Regions from separate parts of the Homo sapiens genome. Here region 2 is linked to region 1. Evidence: promoter capture Hi-C in 16 types of primary human blood cells and fetal thymus (Javierre and others, 2016). All regions are on one chromosome and are shown on one strand. The core of a region is centred on a gene start or on the middle of the fragment in contact, and the rest is flanking DNA. Distances in the headings are between cores, read along the strand shown. Region 1 holds the start of TRQ-CTG1-2 (tRNA-Gln (anticodon CTG) 1-2). Region 2 holds the start of H1-5 (H1.5 linker histone, cluster member).

What was found. Contacts are between HindIII fragments. The CHiCAGO score rates a contact against its expected background, and 5 or more counts as called.
Region 2: the fragment with the promoter of H1-5 here is called in contact with a fragment that was not itself captured in region 1 in 1 of 17 cell types (monocytes); the score reaches 5.2 in monocytes.

The regions. Positions count from the first base shown.
Region 1 is chr6:27,515,348-27,522,525 of GRCh38, reverse strand. TRQ-CTG1-2 (tRNA-Gln (anticodon CTG) 1-2) reads right to left here and starts at 2,997; the gene lies at 2,926-2,997. RefSeq lists a silencer at 2,915-2,964 and an enhancer at 3,355-3,644. The HindIII fragment of the contact is 2,065 bases long and covers 1,576-3,640 here.
Region 2 is chr6:27,864,985-27,872,162 of GRCh38, reverse strand. H1-5 (H1.5 linker histone, cluster member) reads left to right here and starts at 4,575. Exons shown (of 1, transcript NM_005322.3): 1 at 4,575-5,371. The coding sequence starts at 4,634. The coding sequence ends at 5,314. H2AC16 (H2A clustered histone 16) reads right to left here and starts at 6,846. Exons shown (of 1, transcript NM_003511.3): 1 at 6,365-6,846. The coding sequence starts at 6,808. The coding sequence ends at 6,416. It overlaps H3C11 (H3 clustered histone 11), which reads left to right. Exons shown (of 1, transcript NM_003533.3): 1 at 1-318. The coding sequence ends at 258. RefSeq lists enhancers at 983-1,620, 1,621-2,260, 4,316-4,385, 4,646-4,755, 6,326-6,375 and 4 more. The HindIII fragment of the contact is 3,270 bases long and covers 2,321-5,590 here.

The sequences.
Region 1 (7,178 bases), core at 1,359-3,858:
TTGACAATTTTTTTCATTTTGTCAAAATAACTTAAAAGCAAAATGTCTATTTTGTCACATTAAACTTTCACAAGGGGGAAACGTTCCAAAATTTTGTATTATATCATGACAAATCTTTGTTTATGCAAGTATAACAAAGTCTTTGAAGAAAAGAGGAGATGTTTAGAAGCAATGAAGTCCATCTAAGTTAAAAGTGGGCATCTATTTTTTGGCCCAGCTGTGCTGTAGGGTGACTGAAGAAAAATCTAGTAAATGATATCAATACACAATAATATCAACCTTTGAAATTTTGACTAGTAAAGTTTTGATTATAATACAGTTCTTATAGTAATATATTAATATAAAATATAATACATTAAATATAATGCTAATAATAATTAGTTTTTCAATAAAATTCTTAAATTTTTACATCCTGGCATTTTATTCACAGCAAAGAGGCACTACTGCGTAGCTTTGGCCATGCCCTCAGACAAGTACTAATTTCATAGTCATTCGTTCAGCATTTGCATGAATTATAACTTCAGTAAACAGTTCTAAAAATTATCTTTTATTATGATAAATGACTCCAGTATAATTTGATCCTTATTACAACATCCCATTTTGTGTATTATTGTTATTCATCATTTTAGTTCCATTTTGTTTCTACATCTCAAAATTTAGTAATTATTAACTAATATTTTAACAGATTATTTAACAAATATTAGTTTTGTAGAGACAGGGACTCACCATCTTGCTCAGGCTGGTCACCAACTCCTGGCCTTAAGTGATCCACCCACCTCACCCTCTGAAACTGTGGAAACTACAGGCATGAACCACTGTGCCCGGCCTATTTTAACAGATTCTGTGGCTGAATCATAATGAAAGAGAAAATTGATGGAAAAAGAAAAGTTTAGGAAGAAAAGAAATTATAGATAATCATATTGATGAACATAGTGGTCTAATATGCCTAAGACTTCATATGACTAGGGAGAATTCTCTACCAATGAACTGTGCATCCTCAATGGTTCTGTGATAACTAAATTCCTGCTATGGACTGAATGGACTCAAATGCATATGTGGAAGCCTCTCTCTCTCTGTTTCTCTCTCTCTCTCTCTGTCCCCCCAGTATGTGAGGATAGAGCAAGAGGACAGTAGGCTGCAAATCAAGAAGGGAGGGCTCACCAGACATTGAATCAGCTGGAACCTTGATTTTGGGTTTCCCAGCCTTCAGAATTGTGAGAAATAAATGTTTGTTGTTTAAGTCAACAAACATTATATAGTTATAGTAGTCCAAACTGTCTAAAACAATTTCTTAGGCTTCTATGTAGCTAGGATGGCACGCATGTGCCCTAAGTTTTCCAATCAGATGTATTTCTTCTTTCAGAAGAAACATGTATATAAACAAGGGAGAAAAACTCCAAAATTATGTATTTTATCATGATGCATCTTTATGCAAGTATAATAAAGTCTATGAAGAAATGTTTAGAAGCAAATTAGGTCCATCTAAATTAAAGGTAAGCATCTATTTTCTTGCAACATTTGCCTTGGTAAGGGTAATGAATAGATATCTGCTAAATGCAGGTAGATATTTAAGCTTTTAGAGGCAGTGGTGGCATAAGGCCTAGCAAAGGCATTCCATGCTGGGGAACATAATGCTGCTAGCAGTTAACACTAGAAAATGCATGAGGAATCAGAAGGAATGGGTAGTACAATATAAAAGGGCAAATAATCATTATGTGTGGAAGCATTTGGAAAATGAAAATGACAATTCAAAGTTATAAATTCTCCATTAAATGTATGGTTGCAGAATCAGGAATTTCCTCTGCAGTAAAATAATTTTTAATTTTTGTGACCCAAGAATTGCCATAATTCAAAATCAAATTTATATTATAAACATCTCTTGGTTTCCCATTAATGGAAAGATGAATGAATGAGCTGTGGCATGTTCATATTACACAGCAGCTAACATGAAATCAATGAATGAATGGTAGCTACATACAACAAAAGAGATGATTAATTTTAGCAATATAAGATTAAATGAAAAAAGATTATAACATATAGCCTGATACCCTGTATCCACAATTAAAAGACACAATTTTATAAATACTAATAGATAAAATCAAACTAAGGAAAGCACTTTGGCCTTAATTCTTCAGAGACCCAGTAACTTCTTTGTCTTTCCTTAAGTTGTGACAAATCCAAACATTTACCAGAAAATAAACTAACTTGCAACAAGAGACATTTAGTTTTATGAAGACAAAATAATCACAGAGGCATCCTAGGATACAATTTTAAAGCTCTATCATTCTATGGGACGTATTCAGCATTGACAGCAATTCTGTGTGGCGGGTTAATGTCACAGAAATGACCAACAGAGCACTTAGAAGGTGTATCTGGATATTTACTTACCGTGTTGACAGTGATTGAAGTTACCATGTGAGGATCCAATAGTGTTCAAATACCTAAGAGAGTTTAAGCAATTTTTATTTAAAGTACAGATTTATTTTCACTAATCCTTGTTTCTCAGTGGCAAATGAAACACCTATAAATTCTAGTGATTGCACCTAAAAGGCATTATAAAGCCTCATTCTCTTGGGAAAAAGATACATACAAGAATATTTCTTTTCCCTCAAATCTGTTGAGTCCTTTTTGTCCTCTGAAGTGAATTAACTGCATTTCATAAAGCAATAAATCAAGTAAAAAGTTTAACTCAACTCGAATTATTTTGGGTATTAGAATATCTGTTAGGTGGTGGTGAGGAGGGTAGTAAAATGAAGGAGGTATGAGGGTCTCCTGCTCTGAACATAGAGCAGAGAGTCAGTGGGCCCCGTACAGAGTCCGCGTCATACTTTGGGTTCACATGAACTGGAGATTCCTGCCAATCATATCTAAGAGGGAAATTTATTTTAGAAAGAAAAAAATAGTGAGGAAGCAAGAAGAAACGACAGGTTCCACCGAGATTTGAACTCGGATCGCTGGATTCAGAGTCCAGAGTGCTAACCATTACACCATGGAACCTCGCAATAGCTCGTGTTTTTAACAGGCCTTCCTGAAGGAATATATCTTCATTTCCGAACTCAAGCTGTCTTCCCTTTAAGAACCTAAGTTTCTACCCTAATGTTCGTTATCTGCCGCCATCACACAAGTTCCCTTTTCGTTTCTCACAGGGCTCTTCGTGCAAGATCCAAGAGCAAATCTGTTTCCAGGGGCAGATAAGGTAAGTCCGTGCCTCCCCTGGACTCTTAGCAACAGCCTGCGGGGCTCCCCAGCCTCGGTTCTGCGGCCCTAAGCCGGGCTGCCCCGATACAGGGGGAGAGGGCACCAACCTAGCCGCGCTGACAGATTGCGTTGTTGGAAGAACCGCGAGGCTCGCCGCCTCCCGAGCGTTTGTCCGGCGTTCTTTGCTCCTAACGCTAGGAACACTTTTGAAAGTTCCATTTCGTAACGTATAAATTATGGATGACTTAAATTGAGGCGGCGTGTCAACTAGTCCTGGCACCCGTGGCGTTGCCGAGGGTAAAAAACAAAAAACAGGACACCAAAAGATGCTTTCTGCTTCCCGGGAAGGCTCCACCTCGTGGATACCAAAGAGTAAAGCACTGTTAAAAGCTCGAATATTTGCAAGGCAGGATTTTGTAATTAGTTTCTCACTGATAAAGCTTTAACTTGGTCTTTCTCAATGGGATTAACTGAGAACCTCTCCCAAAATATTCAGCAGTAAAAATTTACTGATACCAAGACCCGGACATGACTTGTCTAGGAGTGTTCATTGCAGGAGATAAAAGCGATCTTATGTTGTCAAACAGAAAGGCTGAGGAAGGAGGCAGAGGGTCTTTAAGAGTAAATAATCTCAGGTGATAGGATCTGAACCTTCCCAACAAGATCACATGAGAGGTATCGGCATCTGCCAAAATTACTTTATTGCTTAGAGACGTCTAGTGTCATGGACAAAAATCCTTCCTGCTTCAATGAGGCGGCACTGTCACTACCAGGTTAAAATGGGTCCCGCCCGTAGGGCCGTGGGCTCTGCGGCAGGAGCTGCAATGGCCGCTGTACAGTGGCAAAGAGAATATCCGTACATATCTCATCCAGTCCATCTTCTCCCAGCCCTATGACTTTCTGATCCACTCACTACCAGAAAGCAAGACAGAATGAAACCCTCTTACCAAACGGGATAACTAAAGGTGGTTTCCAGGAGCCTCGGGAACAAGAAGCATGAGGATCCTAAGCATTTTCAATAAAAATCTAGCCCACTGGAGGCTTTTGAAAAACTGAAGGTCCATGTAACAAATTTAAGATGAGCATTTCTAAGGGCTAGGGCTTGTACCAAGTTCTGTGCTCTCTGAAAAAAAAAATTAAAAATATATGCCTGTAATGGTCAAAGCTGAAACAATTTGAGAAACAATAAATAGAAGACTTCAAACCAATCCCTACAGCTTCCCTGATGTGCAACAAATCTCAGTTTTTCAAGGAATCTCCTGAGCAGAATTCCAGATAACTCCACCCCTTCATTGTGGGCTCTGCATAGTGATTGCTCTACAGAATACAGTATGAAAAAGGGTGGGAAAGTAAGCAGTGAATAAATCCCAAAAGCATTACACCAGCAGTGATAAGCCATGTTGATAGTATATTGTCTTGATATAACGTGATAAAAATGGCGCTTTAGGTCAAGCATGGTGGTTTATTCCTGTAATCCCAGCACTTTGGGAGGCCGAGGCAGGTGGATCACTTGAGGCAAGGAGTTCGAGACCAGCCTGGCCAACATGGTGAAACCCTGTCTCCACTAAAAATACAAAAATTAGCCAGGCGTGGTGGCAGATGCCTGTAGTCCCAGCTGCTCATGAGGCTGAGGCAGGAGAATCGCTTGAACCCGGGAGGCGGAGGTTGCAGAGAGCCGAGATGGTGCCACTGCATTCCAGCCTGCGTGACAGAGGGAGACCCTGTCTCAAAACAAACAAACAAACAAACAAAAACCCTCCACTTTACCTCTGCGGTCTTGCTCCCTCGAACCCCTAACTCCGATCTAATGATGAGAAAAATATCAGACAAATCCTAGTTGAAGGACATTCTACAAAATGCCTGCTCAACACTCTTCAAAACTGTCAAGATCATCAAAATCAAGGAAAGTCTAAGAACTACCACAGCCAAGAGAGCTTAGGGAGTCATGATGACTAAAAATAACATGGAATTCTGAATAGGATCCTGGAACAGAGAAAGGAAATTAGGTAAAAATGAAGGAAATCTAACATATTCATTTTAGTTAATAATAATGTATACATATTTGTTAATTGTTTGTAACAAACGTACCATACCAATGTAAGATTTTAATAATAAGGAAAACTGAGTGTGGGGATATATGGGAACTCTCCTTTATATCTTCCCAATTAAATGGAAACTATTGCTCACGGGAATAAGAACAAAAATGTGACCAAATGAAGTTACTTCTTCAAAATGAATTCAGAACTCTGGCTTGCAATGTGCATTGGTACAATTCTCTCCTGTTTTTGCTTAATGAGCCACATATCAGACCTAGTGGTACAGCTTGCACAGCCTACAACTGACCTGAGAGTATACGGACTTGAAAATAGGAAGGACAAATTTTTGTGCCACACCCACTGCTGCCCTTAGTGCTGTGGACACAGAATTGAGCAGGACACTAAGCACTGGCCCTGCCTGTGGAGATTTCAGTTTGTAGTGATGAGATATTGGCTAAAAACAGTGAATAAAGTAACACCCACACAGAGAAAGTTAGGGAAAACTGCAGGTGACTGGAAGCTAACAGCCTAGATAAACTGAGAAGCTGAAATAAGCTGGATATTTGAGTTTAGGCAGGGATTGAAGATGGTATTTAGAAGACGGTGTTGGCCCAAACCTTTTCACATATTGTGAGATACAAGATAAGGGCGTAGTCTGTGGACTGGTTGTCTGGGTGGCCATACCATAGTGGAAGTAAAAGAAGAGCTGAGAAAAAGTTGAAGGATAGGCTGAGACCATAGATCAGGCCAGGGCTTCAAGGTTGTTTGTTTTAGGAGCACAAGTATCTGCTTTGAACTGTAAACATCAGGGAGCAACAGAAGTGACTTTGAGGAACTTAGGAGATTCTCATTGTCCTTTTGCCCTCAGTATAACTGAACATTTCTTTGTTCCCTGCCATGCTGAAGTTGGTTCTGCACCAGGAGCTACTGGTACCAGTCTTTGGGAATTGGTTTGGGAATTGTCTTCATGTTTGCTCATAGTCATTTTATTTATTTCCCAAAAAACAAAAAGCTGATGGAAAATTCCTCTCCCTCAAATTCCCAATGTCAAGAAGTTAGTAGAGCAAAGATTTGTACAATATTTTTTTGCTCTGGACTCCAGATCATATTGAATAAAATCTAGGAAATCCCTTTCTCAGAAAGATGCCCCTAGATACACACATATACCATTTTGAAAACTATCTCAAGGTGTTCGTGAAACACTTGAGGTCCATGGATCTCAGGCTAAGAATCCTCTGCATTTGATATTCCTCTCTATGTCATCTAGCATAATTTATAACTAATAAAAAATGAATTCTATAAGCAGAAATTAAGCATCATACTACTGAAGTAAAATTGTCTTTTAATTGTGCATGAACATTTAATTAATCTTGGTCTTGTAAATTAGGTCACAGGTGCACCCAAAACAAGCCAAAATACTAGTTAAACCAGTTCTCAGAGGGCTCTTCGGGTGTATATTCCTGACAGAGCAGTTTGGGGATACTTGATGCAGACATAAGTAGGTCAGACAGTGGAGAAGAACAGGCGCATATTTATCACAGGGTTATTGGACCTCTACTGAGATAATTTGTTATTGAGAATTGTACTGGTTTCTGTTTAGTGCTGATTCTATCCTGTTCAAACAAGGAAAGTATAAACTTCAAAATTGCATTATATACATTTATTCATTAAGGACTAATTCTCAAACTTTGAACATCAGAGAGGCAGTCTCTTCCAGGTGCAACCCTCATGACTATACTATAGCTGATTTTGGACCCCATTCTCCCAAATTACTTCTTATGTAATTATTATCATTATAATAAATGTGCACAATACATTATTTTATAAGCCAAATGGATTGGCAAGATGTTTTTGTTTTGTTTTGTTTTGTTTTGTTTTCTATCAAAACACAAAGAAGCAGGGGACTGGACGTGTCAGGGCTGACTCGCGGGCTGTGTAGGGCTC
Region 2 (7,178 bases), core at 3,326-5,825, 350 kb before region 1:
ATCCGCCGCTACCAGAAGTCGACCGAGCTGCTAATCCGGAAGCTACCTTTTCAGCGCTTGGTACGGGAGATCGCACAGGACTTTAAGACCGATCTGCGCTTCCAGAGCTCGGCGGTGATGGCGCTGCAGGAGGCTTGCGAGGCCTACCTGGTGGGGCTATTTGAGGATACCAACCTGTGCGCCATTCACGCCAAACGCGTCACTATTATGCCTAAAGACATCCAGCTTGCGCGCCGCATCCGAGGGGAGAGGGCATAAATATTCCTATCAGCCCAAGAAGTCTGTCCAACCCCAAAAGGCTCTTTTCAGAGCCCCTCAATTGTCACCAAAAGGAAGCTGTAGCTTTTGAGACGTGTCTTAGCTCCATGTTAAATACAAGCTGTGGACAAAACGTGGTAGTGGCCCAACACACTATAATGCAGGAGTCAGGTCACAGGCTGTTGGTATGCTAAATCAATTTCACATACAGAACCTGTTCCTACTGATAAGGATTATCACTCAAAAAAGACATGTCATGGGGTCAATTTTACAGATGAAGTTTAGTTTTGAAAAGTATTCCTGTTTTTATCCTTGAGGAATGTGTCTCCTGCGTATCTACCTGCCCCTACTGAAGGGAACAAGTAGCACAATGAGTGTCCACAGGCTCTGGTGAGGCCGAGGCAGGCGGATCACAAGGTCAGGAGATCAAGACCATCCTGGCTAACACGGTGAAACCCCCCTGTCCACTAAAAAAAAGACTGCCGGCCGTGGTGGCACGCGCCTGTAGTCCCAGCTACTCGGGAGGCTGAGGCAGGAGGATCGCTTGAACCTGGCAGGCAGAGGTTGCAGTGAGCCGAGATCGCGCCACTGCCCTCCAGCCTGGGCTACAGAGCGAGACTCCGCCTCAAAAATACAAAAAACAACAGGCTCTAAAAACTACACACATGAGAGTGGAACAATAGACAATAAGGACTCAGAAGGGAGGAAAGAATGAATGATAAGTTACTTAATTGGTACAATGTAAGCTATTTAGCTCTTGTATAGCCCATGTAACTTGACCACCTTGGAGCATATGCACATAACAAAGTTGCCATCGTACCCCATGCAAGTAACAGTTTTGACAAAAAGCTCGACACTTTTGTTCTGTTTCAATGTAATGTTTAGCAAGCCATGTGTTAGGTAGTGGGCCTCTGAGGAGGGATACTTTAACCTACTGCATGCTGTCATCTATGAAATGAACTTCTAGCTCTAAGTGGACCTTAAAAAATATTTTCCTGTCATTTCACCATATGCTTGTCATAGACTGTGGAGTTGGATTTTCATGAGATTTTTTCTTTCTTTTTTTTTTTCAGAGAGAATCAGTCTGGGTATTAAACTTCAAGTGGTATTTTAAAGCTCTTCCTGGTTTCTAACCAAACTTTTCCATTATTTCCAGCTGTTTTAGAGTTTCCTCATGTGCTCTACATATGTGACTATCATGACCTCATTTTGCTCTTAAACTTTTTGAAGCACACATCTTGACCTAGGAGATATCTGGCAGAGATGTGAAGGCAATTTTTCTCCCTAGTGCTCTCAGCCAGCTCAGCCTCATATCTGTGCCTTCCTTTCTCATATTGGATTCACTCTTGCAAAGAGGCATGTATCCCAGCAACTGGTGCAGCGGTGTCCGATCTTTTGTCTTCCCTGGGCCACGTTGGAAGAAGAATTGTCTTGGGCCACACCTAAAATACAGGATCACTAAAGATAGCTGACGAAAGAAAACAAAGGAAGGAAGGAAGGAAGGGAGGAAGGAAGGAAAAAGGAAGGGCGCAGTGGCTCACATCTGTAATCCCAGCACTTTGCATTTTGGGAGGCCGATGCGGGCGAATCACGAGGTCAGGAGTTCCAGACCAGCCTGGCCAACATGGTGAAGCCACGTCTCTACTAAAAATACAAAAAATTAGCTGGGCATAGTGGCAGGCGCCTGTAGTCCCAGCTCCTTGGGAGGCTGAGGTTGCAGTGAGCCGAGATCACGCTACTGCACTCCAGTCCTGGTGACAGAGTGAGACTCTGTCTCAAAAAAAAAAAAAAAAAAAAAAAAGGAAGGAAGGGAAAGAAAGAAAAGTCTGTGCATAATTTTTGTGATATCCACCATCACAGATGAACAAAAAAGTCCTCACATTCAAAGGGTTGGATACAGGTATAAAGTTTTTGGAAACTTAAGATTTGATTCAGAAAAACAAACAACAAAAAAACACTTTTGATCCATGGGGCCAGAAGCCTCTTCCCACAATTAACTTAGAGCTCTTTTAGTGGCTGTTTGCTAGGTGTAGGAACAACTTGACACTGCCTCTTCCAAGCTTTGAAGATAGTTCTCTTCTCACCTCTTCAAGGATTTTCCCTCCATAATAGAGCTGAGGCCATGTTTCTAGGTTTAAAATTTAGAGCTGCCACTTCATAGCTGTATAACCTTTGACAAGTTATTAATTCTCTATCTGGGCCTCATCTTGTATAGCTGTAAATGTAGCAAATTAATAGAAACCTGTAGAACATATTTAAGATTACTTCCTGTCAGGTAGTAAATGCTGAATGAGTGTCAGCTCTTATTGTTATACCCTGGCTCCATTACACATGGAGTTTTGGGGTTTTTTTCTCCTGGACCTTCTAAGTTTTGTGTTTGGAACAGTGGAAAGTGCTTGGTTAGATCATTTGCTCATGAAGATCTCCTTTTCTTTAGTTCTCAATTTGCATTGTTCGGTAAGAGGCCTATACAATATCTGTGTCTCTGTGGAGAAATTTATAACACAGCAAAAGGGCTAGGTAATAAATAGCTTAGGGTTTAAAGGCCATATATAGTCTCTGTCACACACTCTTTAGTTTTTAGTTAGTTTGCTTTTTCGAGACAGGATCTTGCTCCATTGCCCTGGCTGGAGTGCAGTGCTGCTATCATTGCTCACTGCAGCCTTGACACCCTGAATTCAAGTGATCCTCCCACCTCAGCCTCCCGAGTAGCTGAGACTACAGGCATGTGCCACCACATCCAGCAAAATGTTTTGTATTTTTATTAAAGATGGGGTTTTACCAAGTTGCCCAAGCTGGTCTCCAACTCCTGAGCTCAAGCAACCCACCTATCCCAGTGTCCCCAAGTGCTGAGATTACAGACATGAACCACCGTGCCCAGCCTTTGTTTTTGTTTTTTTTTTTTTTAACAATACTTTTAAAACATAAAGACACTTCTTAGCTTGAGGGCCATACAGAAAAAAGCCATTGTCCAGATTTGGCCATAGTCTGCCAACTTCTCCAGGAGTTCTTAGAAGATGAAGTGCATTGGCTACTTTAAATTTTCTTGCACAGCATTTCAAGAATGAGAAATAAGTGACTGTTGATTTCATTAGGAATCCAAATCATCATTTGATCATTTTTATCATCCAGGCATCCTGTCCAATCCCCTCCACCTCCCATAAATTGTAAACTTCATTTATTTCAACCTCAGTGTATTTGCCTATGTTTTCCTGAGTTCCTCTGAACCTCTATAATGTGAAGTCGCTCAATATCCAATCCAACCTTTTCACAGTCAATAGCCAGATATTCTTCTAAAATATTAGCGCTAAAACACACAAAAATACCCATATTGATGTATCCTGGCTGCTCATAGAAGAGAGTATTCCTGATGGTGCAGCTTGTTAAATGTGGGTGGAGATTCAGGGGGAGCAGTGAGAACATTTCGAAAACCTGACAGTGTCCTGGGCCACCTAAACAGTTTGTGCATTTGAGGATCACTGGGAGCTCTTGAATAATTTTCCACAAGTTTGAGTTTTCTCTAAACTGAATTATCTATATTATTTTTCTTCCCCTTTTTTAATGGATTTGCCCAGGAACTAAAAAGAGAAAACACTCTAATTAGAAAACATAACACATTTAAGTTTGAATGTGAATCTGAGTAGTTAGATCCTTAAGTCAAAGCGATTTGTATTACTGGTGCTGCAATGCAGAAGAAGTCACTCTGACTGTGGAACTCTTCCAAGCTGCAAAATCCCATTCTGTAAAGACATTAGCACATGGAAACTCCTAGGACACAGAACCAGTTTGTAAAGTCAAGTCTATGTGGTTAAGTTGGGGCTGTAGGCAACCAGCTGTCCTGTGCCTGTGTTACTTGCTACAGTTAGAAACAAACTTCATGCCCAAACCAAGGAACCCAGTGTCTTTTCTCTTGCAAAAATCAAAGCATGAACTCATGGGCAAATTTTTAAAAATAACTTTCACTGGATACTTAGTAGAAATTTATCGCGACACGCTACTAACTAACATGATGCCCTCAGCCCAATGGATTCTTATGAAAAGCTGAAGGGATTTTTTAAAATATCTTTCATCAATTGCACAAGATTCTTGAAAACACAAACAAGTATGTGAACCTGGAGGCTGTTTTCCTCCTTTGGAGCTTCAAAGTGCCAAATTCTGTACCATTGTTTTAAGCATTTAATCAAATTTTGAGGACTAACAAACACAATTTGGGAGTCCAACCGCGAGCGGCGGCGGCCAGAGGGCGGTGGATTGGACGCTCCACCAATCACAGGGCAGCGCCGGCTTATATAAGCCCGGGGCCCGAGCATAGCAGCAACGCAAAACCTGCTCTTTAGATTTCGAGCTTATTCTCTTCTAGCAGTTTCTTGCCACCATGTCGGAAACCGCTCCTGCCGAGACAGCCACCCCAGCGCCGGTGGAGAAATCCCCGGCTAAGAAGAAGGCAACTAAGAAGGCTGCCGGCGCCGGCGCTGCTAAGCGCAAAGCGACGGGGCCCCCAGTCTCAGAGCTGATCACCAAGGCTGTGGCTGCTTCTAAGGAGCGCAATGGCCTTTCTTTGGCAGCCCTTAAGAAGGCCTTAGCGGCCGGTGGCTACGACGTGGAGAAGAATAACAGCCGCATTAAGCTGGGCCTCAAGAGCTTGGTGAGCAAGGGCACCCTGGTGCAGACCAAGGGCACTGGTGCTTCTGGCTCCTTTAAACTCAACAAGAAGGCGGCCTCCGGGGAAGCCAAGCCCAAAGCCAAGAAGGCAGGCGCCGCTAAAGCTAAGAAGCCCGCGGGGGCCACGCCTAAGAAGGCCAAGAAGGCTGCAGGGGCGAAAAAGGCAGTGAAGAAGACTCCGAAGAAGGCGAAGAAGCCCGCGGCGGCTGGCGTCAAAAAGGTGGCGAAGAGCCCTAAGAAGGCCAAGGCCGCTGCCAAACCGAAAAAGGCAACCAAGAGTCCTGCCAAGCCCAAGGCAGTTAAGCCGAAGGCGGCAAAGCCCAAAGCCGCTAAGCCCAAAGCAGCAAAACCTAAAGCTGCAAAGGCCAAGAAGGCGGCTGCCAAAAAGAAGTAGGAAGCTGGCGTGTGAAAACCGCAACAAAGCCCCAAAGGCTCTTTTCAGAGCCACCCAGAGACCTCTAAAAAATGGCTGTGCACAACATGTTAGATCAGGCAGCAAGATTCCTTGCATTCGAAAAATCTCGGGCAGTTCTCCCTCAACCCTAATCGAGTAACGCAAGGCAAGCAAGAGTCCAGGGTGTTGGTTGGACTCCCCACGTAGTTTACCCATGCAGTCTGTTATTAGAGTATGAATTCCAGCCGTTGGTTTTTGTTAAGTTGGTGTCAAGCTTTTTGTCAGACGCCTAGCTACAAAGAAGCTTCTTATATTTTAAAAAGCCCGCTCTATAATCTGATTGGCCAGTTTTTGTTCCATCATCTGTATGTGGTTTTTCCGCGTTTAAGCCATTTAGGCACCAGCTACTTCGGCGTCACTAATGTGTTCGGCATTAATATAATATGCTATCAACGCACAAGACAATATAGTAGCAAGTTTCAAGATGGGGTCTCTATTACATGCCAATTTGATATGACCGTGTCATTCTGTACTGGATTATTTTTTTTTCCTCAAGTCAGGTTCTCGCTGTCACCCAGGCTGGCGTGCAGTGGCGTGGTCTCGGCTCACTACAGCCTCAGCCTCCCCGGCTCAAGGGATCGTCCCACTTCAGCCTCTGTGAAGTGCTAGGACTAAAGGCGTGCACCACCCCGGTCGGCTAATTTTTGTATCCGCTATGATGCCCAGGCAGATCTCGAATTCATGAGCTCCAGCGATCTTCCCGCCTCAGCTTCCAAAAGTGCTGGGATTACAGGCGTGAGCCACTGAGCCTGGCTCTGGATTTTTTTTTATTGGTTCTAGTTCATATAACACGAGATGAATAAACACAGCGAACATTCTTGTAAGCCCTACATTAAATAACTAGTTCACATTCTGACTTAAACATGTCACCTGAATCCTGTAAGGTTTTTCCTAAAAGTCATTCCTAAGCTCTAGATGAAAAATGCTTTATCTTTTCATAACAAACGTTCCAAATGTTTAACCAGTGGCCCAGCTCTCCCGCAGAAATAGTAGGTGGCTCTGAAAAGAGCCGTTGTATTGGAAAGTGATTCTATGGAGACATTATTTGCCTTTGGCCTTGTGGTGACTCTCGGTCTTCTTGGGCAGTAGCACAGCCTGGATGTTGGGCAGGACACCACCCTGAGCGATGGTTACTTTGCCCAGCAGCTTGTTGAGCTCCTCGTCGTTGCGGATGGCCAGCTGCAAGTGGCGCGGGATAATGCGGGTCTTCTTGTTGTCGCGGGCGGCGTTGCCCGCCAGCTCCAGGATCTCGGCAGTCAGGTACTCCAGCACCGCCGCCAGGTACACCGGCGCGCCGGCCCCGACCCGCTCAGCATAGTTGCCCTTGCGGAGCAGTCGGTGCACTCGGCCCACGGGGAACTGGAGACCGGCACGAGAAGAGCGGGTCTTGGCTTTGGCGCGAGCTTTGCCTCCCTGCTTGCCGCGTCCCGACATGACGAAGAAACGATAAATGGAGGAACTGAGAACAGCCGAGAGAAGTTCACCAGAGCTCCACTACTTATAGTCAATACTGGGCGCGAAAATAAAGCTGTGCCATTGGCTCAAATTACAGTTTTATTTCAACCAATGGAATCGCTGTTATGAAACATGCTTCTTTGGATTGGACAAACGTGTATATGACGTCATCTAGAATCGCCACCAGTCCTACACACTATTTTATTAATCACCTCATTTGCATAAGAATTCGTGAACAGGACGTTACAACACACAGCTTTTTCTTCTTCTTCTTTTTTTGTTTTTTTAAGACAGGGTCTCCCTCTCGCCCGGGCTGGAGTGCGGTGGTACGATCTCCGGTCGCTGCAAC